Linked DNA regions of Homo sapiens: all the other regions are linked to region 1. Evidence: promoter capture Hi-C in human tissues and cell types (Jung and others, 2019). All regions are on one chromosome and are shown on one strand. Each heading gives the region's core, a stretch centred on a gene start or on the middle of the fragment in contact. The rest is flanking DNA. Distances are from core to core; before and after follow the strand shown. Region 1 holds the start of INIP (INTS3 and NABP interacting protein). Region 2 overlaps SUSD1 (sushi domain containing 1). Region 3 holds the start of POLE3 (DNA polymerase epsilon 3, accessory subunit).

Region 1 (3,795 bases), core at 883-3,382:
TCTAGAGATGAGGTCTCACTATATTGCCCAGGCTGGTCTCAAGCAATCCTCCTGCCTTGGCCTCCCAAAGTGCTGTGATTACAGGCATGAGCCACCACACCCAGGCTCAGCTGATCTACTGACCACTTGCCAAGACACCCAGTAAAACAGATTGTTCATTGTTTATATTCTAATAGTCAACATTTATTGAGTTCTTATTATGTGCCAGGTGCTATTCTAAGTGATTTACGTATACCCAATCACTTATTTTTATTCCCATTTTATAGATGACAAAACAGAGGCACCAAAAGGTTAAACCAGGGCTCACCATCATTAAGTGGCAAAGCTCGAATTTGCATTCAAGTAAACTGACTCACTATTAACCACTGTGTTAGAGGTTAACACAATGAGGCAGAAGTTCCAAAAACTCTAGGAGAAGACAGAAGGGTTTCAAGGGCTATGACCTACCAAGTAAAAGGCAAAAGAATTGGCAGCAAGTTAAATTTATCTTTCTCCTGATAATGTTCTTTCAACTCTCAGAGGCTGAATTTGCTAAGAAATTATAAAATGTTGTTTAGGGTTAGAACTGTTTTTACTCCCACCTCCTTAAATAAGCTTTGTTCAGAATGTCCATTTGAAACTTAGACTGGAACTTTCTGTGCCCTAGTTTCTATATTAGCTAGGCCACAAAACAAAAAAAAATTCTAAGGTTCTATCAGCCATATAGATCTCAGTCATCTTTTTAGTCATACTAGAACTCACCAAGTCCTCTTAACTGAAAGGACTCCTGGCCTACCATCAAAATGCTCATGTGTTAGGCTTTATATCTGGATTAAAGTCAAGTCAGCAAGAACTGGTCTCAGAGGAATTCATTCCTCCAGAGCAGAGGCAATGTGTGAGATTTAAGAACTCAGGCCTTAGCATCTGGCAGATCTTTAAATTTGAATCTTAGCTCGCTACTTGACATAGAGCAAGAAACATGAGTCTCAAATATAAATCAGGGAACAGCAGGACCAGAGCTGATGCACAGGAAGCACCTCGCATTGTAGAAGGCACTCAATAGCTGCTTGGTATAGAGTAAATACATGCTTGGTTTTCAGTAAATAAATACTTGATATTGAAACGATTATTTCAGTCATTGATCCATGCACAAGAAAATTGTGCATCATAAACATTTTACTCTTGAGCAAACATCAATTATTAAAAACATATGTTCAAATTCATTATCCATTCTATTTAATTAAATGCTTGAGGCGCTTGGGGAGCTTACATTTGTGATTTAAGTCTGTGCGTTTTTCAAATGTATCTTTCGGAAGAGATTAAGACACTGCAATTTTAAGCAGGGCAGGTGGCTCACGCCTGTAATCCCAGCACTTTGGGAGGCTGAGGTGGGCAGATCCCTTGAGGCCAGGAGTTCAAGACCAGCCTGGGCAACAAAGCGAGACACTGTCACCATAAAAAATATTTTTTTAAATTAAAAAGAGTGCAATTTGAACACATGTCAATATACGATTACCTTTTAATTCAAATGTGTAGCTATCTACTGTGCTGGAATCAGGTGGGCAGCAGGTGATCCCACTAGTGGCAACTTGGTGTTCTGCGATGTGGCACATCCACTTCTTAAATGCAGATTATTGCACTGTAATAAAAATCCTCCATATTCAGTGCTTTCATTGTGTATAATTATGTAAACTGTAGACAAAAAATATTCCTGAATTTGTGTGTGTGTGTGTGTGTGTGTGTGTGTGTGTGCGGATGCGCAATCCGAGATGGTTGTTAAAGCTCGAAAGCGAGTTTAGCTTCTAGAGTCGCCCCTCCTCCGAGGCCCAGCCGAGGTGGACTCGCACCGTCGCAAGACCGGCCAGGCGGTGGCAATGAATAAAAAGCCAGTCTTGGTGCTAGGGACCCAGGTGTTCTCCGTCCCGCCCCTGCCTGGCAGCCCCGCCCCTCCCCCGCCCCGGGCCACGCCCCACCCTGGCCCAGCCCCCAAAAGTACCGTTTGCATCTCCCGTGAGCCTCTTCGACTGTCACTCTTTGGAAAAAAAAGTGACGTCTGCACTGAGGTGGCCGCTAAAGTGCGAATCACGACGGGCGGTGGCCGTTGGGTCCCGGCGGGAGGCGGGGTTTCCGCTCCCTGGGGCGCACGTCAGTCAGGAGGCGGAAGCGCAGCGGGGGCGGGAAGGTTGTAGTGCCGCGAGTTGAGCTCCTCTTGCCTAAGTGGTCGCGCCCCCTTTAAGAGCAGCGATTGTAAGGAGAGGCGGTCCCGGTGTCCTCGGGTCCCAGGTAAGTACGACAGTCTGGAGGCACCGGGCAATAGAAAAGTGTGGCTCCGGTGCTAACCTGTCGCCGCCGTCTTTGTTGCTACAGGCAGCGACCTCCCTTCCGACCTTGCCACCTAACATTTCTGGCTCCTACTTGCTTCCTTCGTCTCGTTCACAGCCCGGGCCCAGCCGGCTCTGCACATCCGTAGGCAGGGACCTTTCTGGCACGCCAGTCTACCCTGTCACAAGATGGCCCTGTTGTCCTCCAGTCCTAACCCCGCATTGCTCGCTCTGTGTTTCAGCCGCTGGAGACACCTAACGATTCATTTACTAAAAACCGGTGTCTGTTTTCTATCCCTTGTGTCTTTCCCGGGCTCCCTAGACTAAGGCATCACTCTTTGCTGCCAATGAAATCAATTCTTTGCCTCCGGCACTGTGCCCACCTTTTAAAGAGCGGGTTTGTTAAGCTTTTTTTTTTTTTAATTAATAGTATGGTTGCTTGAATAAGACTTTATTTTCCCTTCTGAAAGCAGGATTAGGGTCTTGCTCATCTTGGATCTCCCCAGGATTTAGTACGAAAGCACGAAGTTTGGAAACCAGCAGCCCAAATAATTCCTACTAGCTCTATGACCCTGGGTACGGTTTCCTCATCTATAAAATGGTGATAAATAAATAAAGGAACTAATTTCGAGCATGTTACACAGTGTATGGTGCAGAGCAGATACAGTACTCCTTTACCTTTTTTAGCTTTCAGTGTACACAGTAGTTTTTGGGTATGTGTTTTAGACGAATGCAGAGACACCATAGATGAATGATTTTTCTTCCTAGCACCATGATTATATTGACTCTATCAATTGGTTGATATATTTGGTAAATACAACCTAATGACGTTTATTAAAGACAGTAATGCTAAATGGTATGAACATCTGCAAGAATAAACAATGCCGTATTTAATTAAATGCTTGAGGCACTAGCAGAGTTTACATTTGTTTCAGTCTGTGTACATTTCAAATGTATCTTTCTTTCTTTTCTTTTTTTTTTTTTTTGAGACCGAGTCTCGCTGTCTCGCTCTGTGGCCCAAACTGGAGTGCAGTGGCGCGATCTCGGCTCACTGCAACCTCCGCCACCCGGGTTCAAGTGATTCTCCCGTCTCGCCCTCCCGAGTAGCTGGGACTGCAGGCGCTTGCCACCACACCCGGCTGATTTTTTTTTTTAATTTTATTTTTAGTAGAGACTGGGTTTCACCATGTTAGCCAGGATGGTCTCGATCTGCTGACCTCGTGATCCGCCCGCCTCGGCCTCCCAAAGTGCTGGGATTACAGGCGTGAGCCACCGCGCCCGGCACAAATGTATCTTTCTGAAGAGATTAAGAAACAGCAAACATTTCATTGTAAGGAGGCTAGCTGTTCCTTTTAGTTTGTGATTAAAATATGGTGCATTGTATATGTGTGTACACATATTTTATAGGTGATTGTGAAGTGCTGACCAATTGCCACTGGACATACTTGAAACAAAATAGGAAAATGGCAGCAAACTCTTCAGGACAAGGTAATGA
Region 2 (3,868 bases), core at 782-3,281, 670 kb after region 1:
GTGGCACATGCCTGTAATCTCAGCTACTCGGGAGGCTGAGGCAGGAGAATCACTTGAACCCGGGAGGCAAAGGTTGCGGTGAGCCGAGATCGCGCCATTGTACTCCAGCCTGGGCAACAAAGGCAAAACTCCATCTCAACAACAACAACAACAAAAAAAAAAAAAAAAAAAAAAAAAGAAAAGAAAAACTTCTTCCCTTAACAAAATGGAACTATCCTATGCATGATCCCACATGGAACCCTAGTGGAAGACAACTGAAAGCTGGGTCCGTTACTGCATCCAGCTCCAAGACCAGGAATCCTGGGGATAGCATCTTCCTCTTGGTCAAGTCCAGATGTGTTTCTTGTGCTCTATTTAAGTAATCTATGACTAAATGGCAAATTTAACCAATCTCAAACCATAATACATAATATGAGAGGGAAAACTGAATAGCACAATAAATACGCTCATTTAGAAAGGAGGAAAAGATAAAGCAATGTACAGTGGTCAGGGGGCCCTGTAGCAGTGATCACCTCTTGCTGGGCAGGACAAGCAAGCATCCCCTGCCCTGGCAGCAGAATGGGTCACTTGGGTGGTCAGTTTGGGTCTGCCTGATGGGACCCCTTGTCCATTTCCTCCAAAGCCTTTCCTTAGAGATGCAGTGGGAACATTTCTGCTGAGCGCTGTATAGCTTAAACCTTTGCCTTGGAAGAGTTATCCAGGCGGGGAAATTGCCTTAGGGTTTGAGCAATCACAGGTCTTTGTTTTCCAGGCTCGGGATTTCCCTGGCAGTACAGTACATTTCTTTAAAACCAACAGGCAGCCAGCCAGTGGATTTGATTCCCAGGAATTCCATTAGTTTGTAGCTAATACCAGAAATCTTGTTGAGTTTATGACCTTGGAATCTGGACCTTTTCCGTGTGGTTTGTGGGTCCTAGCAACAGGCTGTCAAGTTCTGCCCTTAGCCCACAGTATCAGTTTAACCCTTTACCTCCTCTCCCCGCCTCAGAGCAGCATAAAACAATCAACTGGCATGGTGAGGAAGTGCCAGCATAAACTTGCTTCCCTAAGGATTCCACTGGATAGCACTTTTTAATGGGGAATTTTTTATCCTGTCAGTAGAGAATACTGTGCAGGAAATATCTGGGAGGGGCCTGGGGAATTAGGCTTCCTCCATTTGTCTGCTTCTCTCCTGATCTTATTTTCATCTTTTTACCTCTGCTCAAACCAACTGCAACAAGGGTAGAGGACTTGGCTTTTCAGCAGGGTGCAAGGCGGGTTACCTGACTGTCAGCCATCTTGGATTGCTGATGACCAGGCAGTGAGGGCCCCTCTTGACAAAGATGGGTGCTGTCCTGTTTCTGTGTGCAGATGGGCCAAGTCCCTTTACTTGTAGGACTTTAATAAAGGCCACACATTCCAACATTCATAAATTTTTTTTTGCCAGTCCATCCCCTGAAGCTCTAGGATTGGGCATGGCGTTCTCACGAGGAAAAGAGATGCTTTTATCAGAATAATTAAGATGACAAAGCTTCCAGACACAAAAATAATAGCTTCCAGAATCCACTCTACTCAGCAGCTGTTTGCTATGATTGGAAGACATTCAAACTGGGTAGAAGAAATCGCCAAAGAGCTGGCTGCAGTCATTCTGCTATGATTAAATTAACAGGGAGGATTTTGCTTTGAAAATATCTAAGTGGCTTTGGCAGTGCTCTGGTTTCCCCTCAGCTTGAGAACCAATATTGAAGGAGAGTTTGAGCCTTTGAAATTAAACCACTGGAAATCTCTGGAAGATAATAGGAAAAACACTGTTCTGTGGAAATTCTGAAGGCAATTCTAGCAATACTTTTTTATGTATAACATTTACCTGTGTTGTGCACCCATCTTGGGCAGTCTACTTTTTCAAAAAAGTTTGGAGACTGCCATTTCAGAAAGTAATTTGCAGAGAACCGAGATCTAAATTAGTCCTGAAATCGTGCCAGTTCACTCGTGCCAAGGCTCAGCCCCATTCTGGCCTTTGCCCAGTGACAAATTATGCTATTTACCTTTTGCATATTGCCCCTAGAAGAGCTTTGTAAAGATGATCAGGAAACCAGCAGTCGGTTTGATGGAAGATGCAGAGGCCTGGGCTTACTTGCCTGAGTCTTCTGCTACTAATCAGCCAAGTGTCTTTGAAATAGTATTTAACTTGGCCAGTTCTCAGTCGCCCTCTCTCTGGGATCTCTGAGATGCTTTCCAGCCACAGAGTATTATGAGTCTGTGATTTCTTGAGTCACAAAGCAAGGTCATTTGATATATGTGAGATGATAATAAGCTGTAATCGGGGAACATTCTCCAGTCGTAAGCATGAAACCTCTGAGTTATTCGGGACTACTCCTTTTTCTCTTTCAGCCCACATTTAGCACCTTGGGCACGCCTCTCTGATTTTCATTTCTGTGTTCACTCCCTGAGCATAGGCCTTCCTACCTGTAGCAGGGATGACGGGCAAATCCTCCTTCCTCATCTCCCATCACAAGAGTTCAGAATTTCCCTCGTCATTCCAGCCTACACACCACCACCTGACTTGTTTCTAAACTCAGAACTGATTTTGTTTCCTCTGCTTCTGTGGTCCTCCATTATTTTTCAGTTTGGCTTCCAAGTCCTCTATTTGACACAAACATACCCTTCTAATTACATCTTTTATTCTTCTCCATTCAAACCAATGTTCCAGCTGTTTTCTGGCTATGGCCCATGCTTTCTCCTCTTAATGTCCTTGCTCATATAATTACTTGACGACTTCCATCTGGATTTCCTGATCACCCACCTGTGAATCTCTGCTTATCCCACCTGTTTTTCAAGATTAAAATCAAATGCCCTTTCTTCCCTGAAGCTTTTTAAATTTTCTCAACAGGGCAGGATCTGCCCTTCTTTGGCTATTCTGCTATATTTTAGAGCAATGGGTGTGCACTTGTTTTGTCTGTCTTCTACTACTAGATTTTACACCCTTGAAGGGCATTTGAAGAGGAGGAACAGAGCCTGGCATGCATTAGGTGTTCAATCAGAATGCACTGAATTGGGCTGAATGATTACTGAGGAAGCAGCAGTTAGTTTTATGGGAAATGAAGCATAGGAGGTGCAATACTTATCAAATAAGCCAGAGAAGACTTACATCAGGATATAAACCTAGTGTGTATGTATACATATGTATTTACTGTATATGTACATATATGTGTATATATGTACATATATACATGCACACAATCATTTTAAACCTTTATAGTTGTGATGGGAAGAATTCTAATATGGTTCCCAAATTCCTTGTCTTTGGTATACATCTACCTTCTCTCAGTTATTCATTCAAAGACTGTTCTAGGTATTGCTGTGAAGGGATTTTGGAGATGTACTTAAGCTCCCGAATAGGGAGATTATCCAGATAGGCTTGACCTAATCACAGGAGCCCTTTAAATCTGGATCTAGAGGTCAGAGATAGGGGAAGTTGGAGCTTCAAAGAATGAGATGGATTTGACATAGGGAAATTCTCCTGCAGCTTGAAGATGGAGGGGTCCACATGGCAAGGAGTGCAGCTTAACAGAAGGAGCTGAGCAAGGCCTGGCTGCAGCCAGTAAGAAAATGGGGACCCTAGTCCTATAACTGCAAGTGTCTTAGTCTGTTTTGTGTTGCTATAACAGAATACTGGAGGCTGGGTAACTTATTAAGAAAAGAGGTTTATTTAGCTCATGAGTCTGTAGGCTGGGAAGTTCAAGAGCATAGTACTGCATCTGGCCTGCTTCTGGTGAGGGCTACATGCTCACCAGAACAATGGTAGAGAAGTGGAAAAGCCAGCAGGTATATACAAAGAGATCATGTGATGACACAGGAAGCAAGAAAGAGTCTAGGAAGTTGACTCATT
Region 3 (3,369 bases), core at 337-2,836, 690 kb before region 1:
CAAAATACTTGACAACACTGAGCCCAATTCCAGTTGAAGAGCAACTGACTAGCGCTGAGCAGCCCTGATGGTTTCAGCCAGGTCTGTTCTATCCAAGCGGAGTTCCCCCACCAGACCTTATGGTCTCTAATTGAAACACTTTCAGTTGCCATTTATCATAGCATTTGCTCTTTTGTTTTAAAATATTTCTCTATAATCAGGCTTCTATCGAAAGCAGGAAAACTACAGGGCGACTTGGGACTGCATGCTTGACGGGAAAAAAAAGCAGCATTAATTCTCAGTGGGAGGCTGGGCGCCGTGGCTCATGCCTGTAATCTCAGCACTTTGCAAGGCCGAGGGAGAATCACTTGAGCCCTGGAGTTCGAGACCAGCCTGGGCAACATGGTGAAACCCTGTCTCTACGAAAAATACAAAAAATTAGCTGGGTGTGATGGAACGCACCTGTAGCCCCAGCTATTTGGGGCTGAGGTGGGAGGACCACCTGAGCCAGGGAGGTCGAGGCTACAGTGAGCCGAGACCGTGCCGCTGCACTCCAGCCTGGGGGACGGAGTGAGACCCTGTCAAGAAATTTTAAAAATTAAAAAATAAATAAAATCAGTGGGAGTGAGAATTTCTACGAACTTAATATAAAAATAACTTAAAAACAACTTAAAACACCATTGCGCCGGGCGCGGTGACTGGCGCCTGTAATCCCTGCACTTTGGGAGACCGAGGCGGGCGGATCACGAGGTCAGGAGATCGAGACCATCTTGGCTAACACGGTGAAACCCTGTCTCTACTAAAAATACAAAAAAATTAGCCGGGCGTGGTGGCGGGCGTCTGTAGTCCCAGCTACTAAGGAGGCTGAGGTAGGAGAATGGCGTGAACCCGGGAGGCGGAGCTTGCAGTGAGCCGAAATCGGCGCCACTGCACTCCAACCTGGGCGACAGAGTGAGACTGTCTCAAAAAAAAAAAAAAAGAAACGCCATTGCAAAACCTTGAGAATGGTTTTAACTGGAAAAAATGTATGATGAACAATTTAACTGAAAAATAAATACAATTTTAACACGGTTTGTTTTTGAAAGCGAATGTGACGTTGCATTCTTCATACAGTGAAAAGGCTGCTTCTCGCCCTTTCGTTACCTGCCCAGTCCGAATTGACTCCTGAGACCTAATCAGGCGCATCTCTATATGGCCAGCATTATCCCTGGGCTGCCTAAATAGTTCGCGTTAAACACAAACAACAACAATAAAATCTAAATAACACTCAGTCTTAGTACCATTATTACAAAAGCGTGAGGGGCGAAAAGATTAAAAATGAACATCAACTTCGGTAGAGATGGAAAAAGACTGCCCACTCCATTCCAGGAAAGAAAAAAGAAAGTGGGAGAATCTGATCACGACGGGCTGAGGTCCTGTGAGAGCAAAGCAGATTCCAAACCGCTTAGGGTTGCTAAATCAAGTGGTAAAACGTGGCCCCTTGCGGCGCGGTGAGATTAACGGACCCGGCGGGCCCAGAGCCTGCCTCGGGTCCTAAAGGGATCCGCCCCGCCGAGTCAGCCACGCCTTCGTCTCCCACGCGCTGCGCCCGGCCGCGCCGTCACCCAGCAGCGGCGCAGGGCACCATGGGAAACGGACGGAAGCTCCATTGAGCCAAATAAGTTGGTGAGAAGGTTCCCGACGCGGCGATGGCGAGAAGCAGAGAAATGGACCTGGGGAGGGGCGTGCGGGGTGCGGTAGGGTTGGATGGAAGCCTTGGCGGGCCAAAACCACTGCGGCTTCAAAATCCGGATGCGCCGGTATTTGAGGCGGAGGCGGGGCTGTGGGGGGAGGAGGGAGGCTATGGCGCTCAGAGCACTGTGGGACACTGTAGGCCACGTGGGGCGGAACGGAAACCTCGCAGGGTCAGACCGTAGCGACGCGGGAAGTCCGGACGCAGTAGCTCCCTGAAGCGGAGGCGAAGGGGAGTTTAAGCCCCAGCGGCGGCAATGGCGGAGAGGCCCGAGGACCTAAACCTGCCCAATGCCGTGATCACCAGGATCATCAAGGAGGCGGTGAGCAGCTCGGGGGGGGCGGACGAACGGGCAGGAGGGAAGCAGGTGCTGGAACGGCAGCTTTGCTCACCCCCGGTCTCCTCGCAGCTCCCGGACGGTGTCAACATCTCCAAGGAGGCCCGGAGCGCCATCTCCCGCGCCGCCAGCGTCTTCGTGCTGTACGCCACATCCTGGTGAGCGGGACAGAGGCATAAGGGAGGCGCGGGGATACCTGGCTGGGAGTTGCTGGCTGGGAGCCTACAAACCCCAACGATTGTGTTCTCCCTCGGTGGGGACATGTTCACAGTCCTCTGCCAGTTTTTACAAGTTCTGAAGCAAAATAACACAACAAAATCACTTTGCTTTAGCTTTTTTGTGCAGAGAAGGGAAGGACTTATCCCTGTCACACCAAAATCCATACATGTAAGAGGCAGGCTTTCCCGTTCCACCTCTGGGTGCTCCTTTTCCCACTCACGCCTTACAAACAAGAGGGAGTCTGACAGCCTTTCTCTTCTCTCAGTGCTAACAACTTTGCAATGAAAGGAAAGCGGAAGACGCTGAATGCCAGTGATGTGCTCTCAGCCATGGAAGAGATGGAGTTCCAGCGGTTCGTTACCCCATTGAAAGAAGCTCTGGAAGGTAACGAGCCTCTTGTCTTCTAAACCACATAGAAGATGGTCATCCTGTGTGACCTGTTCACCAGGCCCTGAGCCTTCTCAGCGCGGGTCCCTTTAAGTCCAGTAAGCCAGCACTTGATGTGACTCGACCCAGTTCGGTGGGCACCACCTCAGATCTGTTTTGTAATGCTGAGCAAGTTATTTTTCCTTCTCTGCCTCCGTTTTTGTTTTTGTCTTGCTTTTCTTGTTTTTGTTTTTTTTTTTTTTTTTTTGAGACGGAGTCTTGCTCTGTCACCCAAGCTGGAGTGCAGTGATGGGATCTCAGCTCACCGCAGTCTCCTCCTCCTGGGTTCAAGCAATTCTCCTGCCTCAGCCTCCCGAGTAGCTGGGACTACAGGCGCACGCCACCACGTGCGGCTCATTTTTTATTTTTGTAGAGACGGGGTTTCACCATATTGGCCAGGCTGGTCTTGAACTCCTGACCTCAGGTGATCCGCCCGTCTCAGCCTCCCAAAGTGCTGGGATTACAGGCGTGAGCCACCGCGCCCATCTGCCTCCGTTTTTCCAATTGTACAATGTAATTAGCTCCTGCAGTCCGTCTGGCTCACTTTCAGCTCTGTCTCCTAACCCCTTGTTCCGTCCTTACAGCATATAGGCGGGAGCAGAAAGGCAAGAAGGAGGCCTCAGAGCAAAAGAAGAAGGACAAAGACAAAAAAACAGACTCGGAAGAGCAAGACAAG

The links. The method cuts DNA at HindIII sites, captures the fragments that hold promoters and counts their contacts. A contact is called where the count stands out against the background at its distance.
Region 2: a fragment that was not itself captured here is called in contact with the fragment with the promoter of INIP in region 1 in 1 of the 25 tissues and cell types used here (heart left ventricle).
Region 3: a contact is called between the fragment with the promoter of POLE3 here and the fragment with the promoter of INIP in region 1, in 1 of the 25 tissues and cell types used here (adrenal gland).

The regions. Positions count from the first base shown.
Region 1 is chr9:112,716,454-112,720,248 of GRCh38, reverse strand. INIP (INTS3 and NABP interacting protein) reads left to right here and starts at 2,132. Exons shown (of 5, transcript NM_021218.3): 1 at 2,132-2,262; 2 at 3,708-3,788. The coding sequence starts at 3,764. RefSeq lists a silencer at 1,921-2,080 and an enhancer at 2,451-2,550. The HindIII fragment of the contact is 8,739 bases long and covers 1-3,795 here.
Region 2 is chr9:112,047,718-112,051,585 of GRCh38, reverse strand. All of the region lies in intron 15 of SUSD1 (sushi domain containing 1), which reads left to right. Among named protein-coding and RNA genes, the nearest start is that of LINC02977, 9.2 kb to the right of the region's middle. The HindIII fragment of the contact is 4,177 bases long and covers 1-3,868 here.
Region 3 is chr9:113,408,892-113,412,260 of GRCh38, reverse strand. POLE3 (DNA polymerase epsilon 3, accessory subunit) reads left to right here and starts at 1,586. Exons shown (of 5, transcript NM_017443.5): 1 at 1,586-1,644; 2 at 1,853-2,033; 3 at 2,121-2,206; 4 at 2,533-2,651; 5 at 3,278-3,369. The coding sequence starts at 1,968. C9orf43 (chromosome 9 open reading frame 43) reads right to left here and starts at 1,514. Exons shown (of 14, transcript NM_001278629.2): 1 at 1,260-1,514. RefSeq lists enhancers at 1-886, 1,505-1,694, 1,935-2,214, 1,787-2,686, 1,589-2,788. The HindIII fragment of the contact is 6,520 bases long and covers 1-3,369 here.